Regions from separate parts of the Homo sapiens genome. Here all the other regions are linked to region 2. The links are contacts of gene promoters, found by promoter capture Hi-C in human tissues and cell types (Jung and others, 2019). All regions are on one chromosome and are shown on one strand. The core of a region is centred on a gene start or on the middle of the fragment in contact, and the rest is flanking DNA. Distances in the headings are between cores, read along the strand shown. Region 1 holds the start of CEP250 (centrosomal protein 250). Region 2 holds the start of GGT7 (gamma-glutamyltransferase 7). Region 3 holds the start of ERGIC3 (ERGIC and golgi 3). Region 4 holds the start of CPNE1 (copine 1).

Region 1 (2,883 bases), core at 293-2,792, 580 kb before region 2:
ACCAATGGTCTTGCAAAATGCTAACAGCTCTATTACCTATATAAAAAGCAAAAAAACAGGCTGGGTGTGGTGGCTCACAACTGTAATCCCAGCACTTTGGGAGGCTGAGTTGGGCAGATCATTTGAGGCCAGGAGTTCGAGACCAGCTTGGCCAACATGGCAAAACCCCATCTCTCCTAGAAATACAAAAATTAGCCAGGCACGGTGGCGGGCGCCTGTAATCCCAGCTACTCAGGAGGCTGAGGCGGGAGAATCGCCTGAACCTGGGAGACAGGATGTTCCAGTGAACCCAGATCGCACCACTGCACTCCAGCCTGGGTGACTGAGACCAGGTCTCAAAAAAAAAAAAAAAAGTGGGGGGAGGCATATAACTTATAGCTTGGTCAGTGGCAGAGCAATGACTGAACCCCAATCTGATTCCAAATTCTACACTCTCTCCATTACATTAGCTGTTAAAGCATGAACATTACATTAGTTAAAGCATGGACTACGAACTCACAGCTCTGTGAGGGGCACTTCTTAAATAGTGAGCGATAATGACACCTATGTCTGCAGCTTTCTGATCGAAAAGGAGCAAAGAAAGATAGAAGAACTAAAGGAACAGAGGGCGTACCAGTAGCCTTGGTTTTGTTGTGACCTCTATAAATCTGGGACCAGTTCTCCTTTCTAAGCCTTCGCGGTAAAATACTGATCACAAGCCTAGCCTCCAATAACTCCCAGGGCCAAAGTAAAGATCAATTCAACAGACGTTGATTAAACCCAAAGGCAATCTAGTCAAGTCATCAAATGCCCTGGGGACAGTTTCCCAGCTCCATCCACTTATTAGTTGTGGGACTCCTGGCAAATTACTTTTTCTATGAATACCTCAGTTTCTTCATGGGTAAAACGTGAAGCTATAGAAAGAACTCACCCCATAGGATTGTTGGGAAGATTAAATAGGCCTTTGGCTGAGCGCGGTGGCTCACGCCTGTAATCCCAGCACTTTGGGAGGCCGAAGCGGGCGGATCACCTGAGGTCGGGAGTTCGAGATCAGCCTGACCAACATGGAGAAACCCCGTCTCTACTAAAAACATAAAATTAGCCGGGTGTGGTGGCGCATGCCTGCAATCCCAGCTACTTGGGAGGCTGAGGCAGGAGAATCGCTTGAACCCGGGAGGCGGAGGTTGAGGTGAGCCGAGATCGCGCCATTGCACTCCAGCCTGGGCAACAAGCGCGAAACTCCGTCTCTAAATAAATAAATAAATGGGCCCTTATGTGTAATGCATTCAGTAGCACCTGACAATTTGTGATCATTCCGTACAGTAAGCCATGACTATTATCATCACGTGCTAGGCCCTGGGATCTAGAGATGAAAAAGGCAAGGCATAACATCTAACGAACGAGCTTACGGTGTCAACGAGGGGCCGGGAAAGTAACTCGGTGCACAGCGAGTGCAAAAACCGAGAAGCGAATGCAGCTGCGCCTGGAGAAGGCGGCTGAGAAGCGATACTTCAGCAGGGTCCTGAAGAATGGGAGCTCCAGAGTCGGGTGGCGGGTGGGACTGGGCTTTCGGATAGATTACGTGCAAATCCGCCAGGACACAGGGAGCGAGGGGCGGGGGGGCGGCAGAGCGCGGCGCCTCACCCTCCCAGCCTGGGATTGCGGCTACTGGACACGAGGGTCGGGAAGCTCTCCTTCGGCGCCGACTGGAGCTTAGCGTGCTGGCGGCAGCAAGAAGCTGAGGCAAGCGGGCCCCGGGCCCTAACGACGCGTCCCAGCCCCTCTCTGGGCCTCGGGTTCCTCCCGGGTAACAAGAGGCCGCTGCCCGAACGGGATTCCCTCAGGCGCCCTAGACGGGCGGGTCTCCGGGCCTCGGACGGTTAACCCGAGCACCTCCCACCTGCCCCTGAGGCCCCACCTCACCACGCTCGGCTCCCGCAGACGCCCGGCTAGTTGCTCCGCGATTGAGCTGCGGCAGCCGCTGCTAAGGCCCTGCGGGGGACGGGGGCGGAGCCCACCCCGAGGCAGAGGGCCAGGCCCCGCCCCCCCAAACTCCCGCCCTTTGGGAGGGGCCCGCCCCTCCAAGTCCTGCACCTATAGGCAGACTGAGCCGGCGCAGGGCCTCCCGCCATGTTGGGTATTGGCAGCCGACTTACTAGAGAGGCCCTGAAGGAAAGGGGGTATTATTTTAAGAATTATAAGATCCCTAGCCAGAAATGGGGACGGTCAGGGTCTCTGGATTCGCGAAAGGGACATTTCGGAAGCAGAAAAGAAAAATTGCCCTCAATCATTTCGCTTTTGGCTTCAGTGTTACATACAGCGCATGTGCAAGGTCACCTGGTTCTAGGTGCGCCTGCGCACAGCTCCACCTACAAACCAGACTACAATTACAACTGCCGAGAAACAAAGGGGCTCGCTGCCACTGGTTAGCGATAATACTGGCAGCGCGACCGGTTTCTGAGGGTTGTTCACCTTGCTGCTCAGACGCTCCGAGAAGCTTCAGGCAGCATAACACTTACAGGCGAGTTACTTACTCAACACTCGGTTTTGTCTGCATGTCTCTGCACAGAGTGTTACCTTTACCTGACTTAATCCGTCCCGGAGCTGCAGTTCTGCTTAAGCCTGACTTCTAGAGAACTTTTTCTTCCCAATAGGACCCATGCGTTATTCCTGTAGCATTTTGTGTATAAATTTTTTTTTTTTTTTTTGAAATGGAGTCTTGCTCTGTCGCCAGGCTGGAGTGCATTGGCACGATCTCGGCTCACTGCAACCTCTGCCTCCCAGGTTCAAGTAATTCTCCTGCCTCAGCCTCCCGAGTAGCTGGGACTACAGGCGCCCGCCACCACGCCCGGCTAATTTTTGTATTTTTAGTAGAGACAGGATTTCACCATGTTGGCCAGGATG
Region 2 (2,903 bases), core at 155-2,654:
CACCCAAACCCCAGAGCTGTTCCCGACACACTGCTTCCCCCTCCTGTCTATAGTTGCTACTGCAGCTGCTGTGTATATAGTAGATTTTTCAAGCACTTCAGGCCATCCCTGAGACTGGTCTGGGGTTGGGAAGAGAAAGGATGTGTGTATAGAGGCTTCACCAGCCCCCCTCTCTTCCTGTGGACTTCACAATGAAAGTTTGGAACAGAGACCTCGTAAAAGAAGGAACCTCCCTCATCCTTGGATATGGAGAAGTAGTACAAGCTGTAGTGTGGTTGGAATTTTGGAGTGGAGAGAGGATGGATGAGTTTGGAGGGAATGAATCTACCAGATTAAGGCAATGATGATGATGATGATGATGCCATTTATTGAGTAGGTGCCAAGCCCTATACTAATCGCTTTCCATTCTGTTACTTAATCCTCATGACAACCCTCTAAAATGGGTACTATTATTCTTTCCATTTCACAGATGGGGAAACTGATAGAGAGACTAATTGTCTTGCCCAAGATTACACAGTGTTTGAGCGGTGGCAGAATAGAACCCAGACATCCAGAATATGGAGACCTATTCCCCACCTTGCCCCACTCCTGCCCTACCATCACTACCACCACTCCTTCTTTCTCAAAGTGTCCTTTCCAGAACCACATCAAAAACTCTTAAAATGATGGTAAATATTCAGGTTCCAAGGACCTCATCCCAGCCTACTGAATCATGATCTCTGGAGTGGAATCTGGGGATCCGCTTTCAAAGATCCTAACACACACTAAAGTTTGAGAATGCGGTTGAAAGAGGAGTCAGAAGTGTCGGGGTGCGGGAAGGGATCTGAGGTCAGAGGAGGGATCTGTTGTCCAAAGAGGCGTCTGCAGTCAAAGAGGCCTGGAGATGAAGCATGGGCTGGGGTTTTCAAAAGGGTTTGGGGGTGAAGACAGAGTCTGAAGTCGAAAAAGAGGTCTAAGGTCGGAGGAGGAGTCTAAAATCGGAGGAGGAGGATCTCGGAATTCAAGGAGGGGTCTGGGGTCCGAGGAGTTTGGGGTCAGAGACAGGATCTGGGGTCGAGAGGGATTTGCGGTCAGTGAAAGGGTCTGGGGCCCGAAAAGGAAGCCTGGGATTTGAGGAGGACACTAGCTGTATTCAGGCTGGAAGGAGGAAGGGGTTTGGTCCCTGAGCTGCGTAAAGTGCAGAGCCACTGAAGTCTCGCTTGCCCCGCGCTCTCCCCTCGACCCTGCGCTGCCTTCCTGGCTGTCCATCTACACGCACCTGTGTGCCAGCTGCAGGCTGATAGCGCTGAGCAGACGGGGGCGAGTCAGACCGGGACACGGCCGAGGGCTGGGAGAGGCGCCCCCTCCCGGCTGTCGCGAAGATCAGGCCCCGCCCTCCGCCCTCCCACTCCCCCGCCGCAGCCACTTCCGGCAGGCGCTGCGCTGCTGGGGGGCGCGGGCGAGGATGGCGGCGGAGAACGAGGCCAGCCAGGAGAGCGCCCTGGGCGCCTACTCGCCAGTGGACTACATGAGCATCACCAGCTTCCCGCGGCTGCCCGAGGACGAGCCGGCGCCCGCGGCCCCGCTGAGGGGCCGCAAGGACGAGGACGCCTTTCTGGGAGACCCCGACACCGGTGAGGCCCGCTGACCCCGTCCCTGCCCTGCCTTGGGAAGTCCCCGGTCTTCCTTCTTCTGTGTCAAGCATCCACCTCCAGCTCCATCTCCTTAATTCATCCCCATCTTCTTGGATCTCTCCCTTCTTCTCCCTTGTCTCTGTTAATTATTTGGTGAGGAAGGGGGTGCATTTCTGCCTTGGAGGCGTAGGATGCGACAACGGAGAGGATGCTAGGGACTGCAGTAGAAGGGATTGGGCTTACCTTCTGGGAAGAACCAACTAACGATGAAGGAATGTTGAAGGGGAGATCCTAAGGAACCGCTGTGATCACCCAGAAGAGGGCTTTCTCTAGCCACAGAGGACAGGATAGGAGAAACCAAGTCAGAGACTGCAGCAAGAGGGATCCAATCTGTGCCTTAAGAGAAGTTCCCCACAGCCAGGGATTGTGAGAAGCAGAGGGTCTGGGAGAAGCGGAGAATCTCTTCATGTCTAGGGAGGGGTAAAGAGAATATGATTCCCCTCTGTTGGGTGTTGGGAGACGGAGGCATGGACTGCATGACCTCTCAAAAGTCCTTGGGGACTAGAACGCCTTCACTCTCCTGTGGATTACCCCACCCCTCCCTGAGCCATGGATCTGGCCGGGGTATTAGTAAGGTACTCTGCTCCCTAGGAAGCAGTCTCCAGAATTTTACTGTGTTCCCCTCAGCCCTCTGCTGGAATTGTGAGAAGTGGGGGTAAGAGAAGGAGGAGACAGGGATTGGAAGAGACCTGGGGGCAAAGAGCTCTCTGTGCATTCCTTCCCTGCTGCTCTTCCTCCTAGCCATGTGGCCCAGCTTCATCCTCCCCTCCATTCTTCATCCTTCATCCCCCATCCCTCTGTCCCTGCACGTCACTTCCTGGCATTAGAGCATCCTTCTACCTCACTCTCGCTTCCTCGCAGTGCCTGCACTTGAGCCTTGTCTCTTACCAGCCTGGCAGATGCTGCTTTTCCGGCTTGGCCCTTCCCTAGCTGCTCCCAGCCTGAAAGCCCCAAATTCTCTCCTCCTCTACACTTTCTGGTCATCTGGCCCTGACCAGCAGCCCTTGCCAACCTGACTGGACTGCACTCTGTATGGGGTGGGGGTGAGGAGATAATGAAGATGGAGTTTAGAGGTTTATGGGCGTCAAATGTCAGGGCTGCGGATCAAAACTTATTTTCCAAAGGGAGTGGAATCAGGAGGTAGCAGGGAGAGGAGTGGGAAGATGTGTCATGATGGATATCAGCCTGAAGCTAGGCCTTTTATTCAGTAGTCAGGAGTGAGACTTCTGG
Region 3 (3,100 bases), core at 41-2,540, 670 kb before region 2:
AATCTGACTTGAGAACCTAAATTCTCATTAAACCACCTGCATTCCAAAGGGGAAGAGCATTAAGGGCTGAATTAAGCCAATGGGCTGGGAAAGCAAACACTCAAAGAAGCCTGGGTCCATCTAGACAGTTCTACCAAGGCAAGAGCACATAAGACCTATCTTCAAACCTCTGGTATTCAAACTACCATCTGCAGGTATTGAGGACCTCTGAGAATAATAGCCAGGTAGATTACCTGACTCGATATGTATAGAGGATTTTAGCTCACTCTGACTCTTACTAGCTGGGGGACCCTAGGCAAGTCACTTGACTTCTCTAGCTCTTAGTTGTTTAATGTATCACTATGCCTGCCACAGTTCACTTGCTAGCAGATAGGCTTGGGTACATCCAGCTTTGGGATCTGAGACCCGGCCCCCTCCCCTGGTTACCATGCCGCTCAGCCTCTGAGCTCACGGGGATGCCATCTTTATCTAGTCGTTGCTTGAACAGGTTGTGTTCCACATCCAGCTGCTGTTCTCCGGCCACATCCATGGCATCAATACTCAGATCTGGAAGCAGGAAAATCAGGCTAAGGTACTGGGACCCTAGGGACAAGGGGATGTGGGTTTTGGAGGGGAAGGGGATACTGGGCCTGTCTTGGGGCAGAACGGGATGAGGAGAAGGAGGTTGTCCTGGGGTCCAGTCCAGAACCTAAGGGTGGAGGTGTGAATCTGGCAGCCCACATGAGAACCCTGGGTCTCTCCAGTCCCACCCATGGTGAGGTACTCACAGGCACAAGGCATGTGCGGAAAAAGTACATCGATGTTGATCTTCAGTTTATCTCCCCGCGACTTGTCCACGTAGAGCTCAGGATGCACCTGGGGCAGCGCTACCTCAGTAAGACTTAGCCCCAAACCTCTCCTTCCCCACTCCCACCCCTAAAGGTCCTACTCCTAGAATGCCAAGCCCCGCCCACGCACTAAGCCCCGCCCCTTACCTCCGTGGTGAGGTAATACTGCAGCTCGGACAGGAACAGTAGCAGCATGAGAAGGCCACTGACAATGGTCACTGCAGGACAAGGGGCGAGGGTCAGAATGGCCTCGAATCCGCTCCCTCAGACACCGGCAGGCCAGTCAGAGTCCAGGAGCCCGGGCTAAGCTCTAGGACGCCCCCCTCCACGCGACCCCGGCCCCGCTGCGGCCTACCGGTGGCGCCCCCGCAGGTCTTGACCCGGAAGTCCTCCAAAGTCTTGGGGTAGGCATCGAACTGCTTCAGCTTCCCCAGCGCCTCCATGGGGACCGGCCGGAAAGGGGACGCCAGCCGGCCCGCCCCTACAGACTCCCTCTTCCGGCCTGGAGCCACGCCCCCCTCTTTTTCCTCACGCAGGCGCAGCAAACCGCACGCTTGGCCCCACCTTTAGCCGCGTTCTCTTACAGGCGGCCCCGCCCAACGATGCTGCCACGCCCCCTTGCGCGGGCAATTGGGTCTGGAAGCTACTGCCCCGGCCTCCGCTGTCCGGGGCGGGATTTTGAGGACTGGGGTGCGAGGAGTTCTCTGCGGGGTTAGAAACGCTAATAGCACCGTTCGTGTGCCTTGTGCTCGGAACTGCACCAGGTGTTTAAGACTCTTGGAACATCTTGGAATATCCTGGAACAGTGGTTTTTCGAGTGTACCGGACCGGCCGCATCATTATCAACTGATTACCTATTAGAAATGCAAATAATTGATTCCCACCTACTGAAGCCGAAACGCTAGGAATGGCATCGGATGATTCTGATGTAAAGTAAGGGTGTCCGCCCTGAAAGCAGGTGTGACTTATCTCCGTTTTCCAAAGAGCAAACTGTGACCTGGAGAAGTTAAATAACTTGCCCAAGATCACAGCCAATTAATAGCAGGACCTGCTTCCAGCCCAGTTCTTCTGGACCTCAAAGTACTCTGGGAATCAGGGTCTTTTGGGTTGATTTTACCTAAACAGCGTCCCAGTGCTTCTCCTGAGCGCTGCTTTCTGAATATTACCCTAAATTGCTCTCCAGGCCCTGGGATCCTCACGGACACGCTCTATCCCTCCAGGTTTAGACTCAAGTGATATGGAGCTTAAGCTCTCCCTGACACTTCCCATTGCAGCCCAGTGTCTCTAGAGGGACAGCTCCCACAGTAATGCAGCTGCAATGAGTAAGATATAAAAGCTCATAGGCTTTCATACAGGAATTCCACTTTAGGAAGTAAAAGCACCATGTCAAGGTTAATAGAAAAATTTTGAAAAAGAAAAAATATGTAAGCAGCTATCCAAGGTTAACAGAAAAAAATTTTAATATAAGGATAAAAGTACCATGATCTGGGTGGTTGTTACACCTTAAGATATTGAATCTGTCTCTTAAAGATTTTAAGTGCACCACATCATAAAGATGTATGCATGAGATTGTTCAATGGCAAAAATCTGGAACCAGCCAGAATGCCCACTGATACATTAAATAAATTGAATAAATCACGATACACCCATTCTATGGAATATTAGGCCACTTTTCAAAAGAATGAGGTAGATTTACTCCTTTAGGTATACTAAGAATGTATTTTTAAGGGGGAAAAGATGCAAAGTAATGTGCATTCCATCATTCCATTTTTTAATTAAAAATTGGGCTGGGCACAATGGCTCACACCTGTAATCACAGCACTTTGGGAGACCGAGGAGGATCACATGAGGCCAGGAGTCTAAGACCAGCCTGGGCAACACAGCAAGACCCCACTCTACAAAAACTTTAAAAACTACATCTGTAACCCTAGCACTTCAGGAGGCCGAGCCAGGAAGCATCACTTGAGTTCAGGAGTTTGAGACCAGCCTGGTCAACATGGTGAAACCCCATCTCTACTAAAAATACAAAAATTAGCCAGGCGTGGTAGTGTGCTCCTGTAAACCCAGCTACTTGTGAGTCCGAGGCAGGAGAATCGCTTGAACCTGGGAGGCGGAGGTTGCAGTGAGCCGAGATCATGCCATTGCATTCCAGCCTGGGCGACAGAGTGAGATTCTGTCTCCAAAAATAAAAATAAAAATAAAAAAATTAGCCAGGTGTGGTGGCATGCGTCTATAGTCTCAGCTACCTGGGAGGCTGGGGTTGAGCCCAGGAG
Region 4 (2,996 bases), core at 37-2,536, 790 kb before region 2:
ATGGCGTTATCTTGGCTCACTGTAACCGCCACCTCCCGGATTCAGGCGATTCTCCTGCCTCAGCCACCCTGGTAGCTGGGACCACAGGCGCCAGCCAGCACGCCCAGCTAATGTTTGTATTTTTAGTAGAGACGAGGTTTCGCCATGTTGGCCATGCTGGTCTTGAACCCCTGACCTCAGGTAATCCGCCCGCCTCGGCTTCCCAAAATGCTGGGATTACAGGCGTGAGCCACTGCGCCCTGCCCTAGATTAAAACTCTTTTTTTGTTTTTTTTTCTGAGACGAAGTTTCGCTTTTGTCATCCAGGGTGGAGTGCAATGGCGCCATCTGGGCTCACTGCAACCTCCACCTCCCGGGTTCAAGCGATTCTCCTGCCTCAGCCTCCCAAGTAGCTGGGACCACAAGCACCGCCACCACACCCAGCTAGTTTTTGTATTTTTAGTAGAGGCTGGGTTTTGCCTTGTTGGCCAGACCGGTCTCGAACTCCTGACCTCATGATCCGCCCTTCTCGGACTCCCAAAGTGCTGGGATTATAGGCGTGAGCCACCGCGCTCGGCCTGTATAAACTTTTTTTTTTTTTTTTTTTTTTTTTGAGATGGAGTCTTGCTCTTTCGCCCAGGCCGGAGTGCAGTGGCGCAATCTCGGCTCACTGCAAGCTCCGCCTCCCAGGTTCACGCTATTCTCCTGCCTCAGCCTCCCGAGTAGCTGGGACTACAGGTGCCCGCCACCACGCCCGGCTAATTTTTTGTATTTTTTAGAAGAGACGGGGTTTCACCGTGTTAGCCAGGATGGTCTCGATCTCCCGACCTCGTGATCCGCCCGCCTCGGCCTCCCAAAGTGCTGGGATTACAGGCGTGAGCCACCGCGCCCGGCCCCCGGCCTGTATAAACTCTTAAATGGGAAAAAAGAATCAGGTTTTGGCTGTTTTGTCAGGATATAATAACTAGCCACCACGTTGTGGTCCATTTAATCCTCAAAAAACTTAGAGGTAAGCACAATTCGCTCCTTCCGCGGAAACTGGAAGACGTGAAGCAATTTGCACAGTCTTGCAGTGAAGGGCCAAGCTAGACACTCATACCCAGCCCACCCGCCAGGGCCACTAGCCCAAGGTCGGTCCTGTGCGCCAACAGTCGCAAGCAGGGACTGAATATCCCCCTCTTAGCACAAAACCCAGTAACTTCCGGGAGATCGCCCGAGACCGTCAGCGCGCTTGCGCGGCCCCTTGACGTCAACCACGCCGTTCCTCCCCCTTCTGGAACGCGGAGCCGCTGAGCGGGCCGACGGCCATTTTGTGAAGCGGCGAAGGAGGTGGTGGCTGCGTTGGGCTCCGGGAAGCCGTTCGGGCTGGGGCTGTCGGCCGCGGGGCGGAGGCACTCGCGCGGGGGGTAATTCGGGGTCTGGGTTCTGGTGCCGCGCAGCTTTCCCCGGTAAGACTCCCGCAGCCCCTGAACGGGTGGGGCTGTGCGGGGCTCGTGGTGCCCCTTGGTGGCCCGGGGCGGGGCCTTCGGAGGCCTTCGAGCCCGCGGCAACTAGCGCCCCACACAAAGGGTCGAGGCAGGGCTGCAGGGGGAGTGGGATGCCACTTAGGCCTCTGAGATCTGAGAGGATGCAAGGAGGACGCAAGAGGATGAGCCTGCGTACCGAAGTGGGGACGAGGCCATAGCGAGGACTCCCCCGTGGTCTGAGAGGGGGCAGGCCAGAGCTGGCTGGCTCAGCGGCCTGCGAGCTAACGGGGACTGCAGTAAAAACACGCCTACATCCCGAGTACGGAGGATTTCTTGTCTCCCCCAGTGAAGCAGAGGTTATAACTACATCTCTGTGCCTGGAGGTGGGGAGATAATCGTAGTGAGGACACTCCTTCAACCCGAAATGGAAAGGAGGCCTTTGTGGCCTACCAGCAAAAGGGGACCCAGGTCACACCTGTGGGGAGGAAGCTGTAGTCGGTACACTCCTGTGAGTTCAGAAAGGAAGTGTCACAACCGGCCGCCTTCGTGGCCTGAAGGTGGAGGGGTTTGCAGTGAAATGCCTCCGAGGTCCATTGCTGGGGAGGGGCTTTACTCGAGGGTGTAGCAGTTTTGAGAAGCCGGCGTCTGAAGCTAGGAGGTGAGGGGGTGGGGTGAGTACGCCTCCTGAGGCTCTGAGAATTGTAGTAAGATGCCAGGCCTTTGGTCCCCCAGTAGGGAAGGGGCTGCTGTGAGCAGCACATTTACGGCTCCCTCGGGAGAGGATCCTGTGGCATTTCAGGAGGACGAGATCCAGTGGGCTGCGGAGGGTGGGTGCTTTTGATGGAGAGTTAATTGAGTTTCTCTGAAGCTTGGCTGCATTAGTTTGCAGCCACGTGAATTGGGTGGTGGGAGGGACTTTGAGGATCTACAGGTTAGTGACGGGGTTGGACGCCAGTGCAGCAGGCTTAGCTGCTAGGTTGTAAACGTACGGGCTTTTTGTGTGCCTCCAACGTGTGCTTTATAGTGACAAATCTGAGGGGCTCTTGTGAGGGTTACTCAGTATTAAGTGCTAAACATTTACTCATCTGCGTGGTGTCATGCTGAGAATTGCAGACTTTAAGAGATTTCTGGGCCCTAAAACCCTCCTTGGCTCCAGGATTCTCAGAGATAACCTAATATAAATTGAAGAAGTTGGTAGGGACCGTTTTATATTATTCAATAATAGAGTCAGTATAACCCACTGGAAAAAAGTGTGATGGCAACTGAAGGTTTGTTGAAGGGAGAGGCTAGGCTTGTGACTGCAGTATTTTAGAGCTTCTTGCTTGAATGGTTTGAAATGGTGTAATTTTTGCAAAATGCAGTCTTAGCAACAAGAATTGTCTGGGACCTTGTTAACTAGTGTATATTGTTAATGCATCTCAGAGCATTTGCAGTCGAGAAAAATCCCTCAAGTCTGGACACATAGGGAAATCTTGTTTTTTAAATTATAGAACTACAATACAAGACTGGTTGTACTTGTTTTTGAAATTTGGCAGTTTTGATAAGAATGGAG

The links. The method cuts DNA at HindIII sites, captures the fragments that hold promoters and counts their contacts. A contact is called where the count stands out against the background at its distance.
Region 1: the fragment with the promoter of CEP250 here is called in contact with the fragment with the promoter of GGT7 in region 2 in 3 of the 25 tissues and cell types used here (aorta, dorsolateral prefrontal cortex and spleen).
Region 3: a contact is called between the fragment with the promoter of ERGIC3 here and the fragment with the promoter of GGT7 in region 2, in 1 of the 25 tissues and cell types used here (mesenchymal stem cells).
Region 4: a contact is called between the fragment with the promoter of CPNE1 here and the fragment with the promoter of GGT7 in region 2, in 1 of the 25 tissues and cell types used here (dorsolateral prefrontal cortex).

Annotation. Positions count from the first base shown.
Region 1 is chr20:35,454,257-35,457,139 of GRCh38, reverse strand. CEP250 (centrosomal protein 250) reads right to left here and starts at 1,542. Exons shown (of 35, transcript NM_007186.6): 1 at 1,389-1,542. It also overlaps a transcript of GDF5 not described here. RefSeq lists a silencer at 1,748-2,127 and enhancers at 2,148-2,297, 2,558-2,607. The HindIII fragment of the contact is 9,261 bases long and covers 1-2,883 here.
Region 2 is chr20:34,871,357-34,874,259 of GRCh38, reverse strand. GGT7 (gamma-glutamyltransferase 7) reads left to right here and starts at 1,404. Exons shown (of 15, transcript NM_178026.3): 1 at 1,404-1,613. The coding sequence starts at 1,445. RefSeq lists a silencer at 1,233-1,522. The HindIII fragment of the contact is 17,400 bases long and covers 1-2,903 here.
Region 3 is chr20:35,540,268-35,543,367 of GRCh38, reverse strand. ERGIC3 (ERGIC and golgi 3) reads right to left here and starts at 1,290. Exons shown (of 13, transcript NM_015966.3): 1 at 1,183-1,290; 2 at 975-1,045; 3 at 768-855; 4 at 427-546. The coding sequence starts at 1,270. RefSeq lists an enhancer at 1,529-1,618. The HindIII fragment of the contact is 35,337 bases long and covers 1-3,100 here.
Region 4 is chr20:35,663,190-35,666,185 of GRCh38, reverse strand. It overlaps CPNE1 (copine 1), which reads left to right and starts at 1,286. Exons shown (of 16, transcript NM_152925.3): 1 at 1,286-1,426. RBM12 (RNA binding motif protein 12) reads left to right here and starts at 1,286. Exons shown (of 3, transcript NM_006047.6): 1 at 1,286-1,426. RefSeq lists enhancers at 1,318-1,367, 949-1,453, 1,638-1,747, 2,068-2,117, 1,958-2,463 and 1 more and a silencer at 1,425-1,719. The HindIII fragment of the contact is 6,796 bases long and covers 1-2,802 here.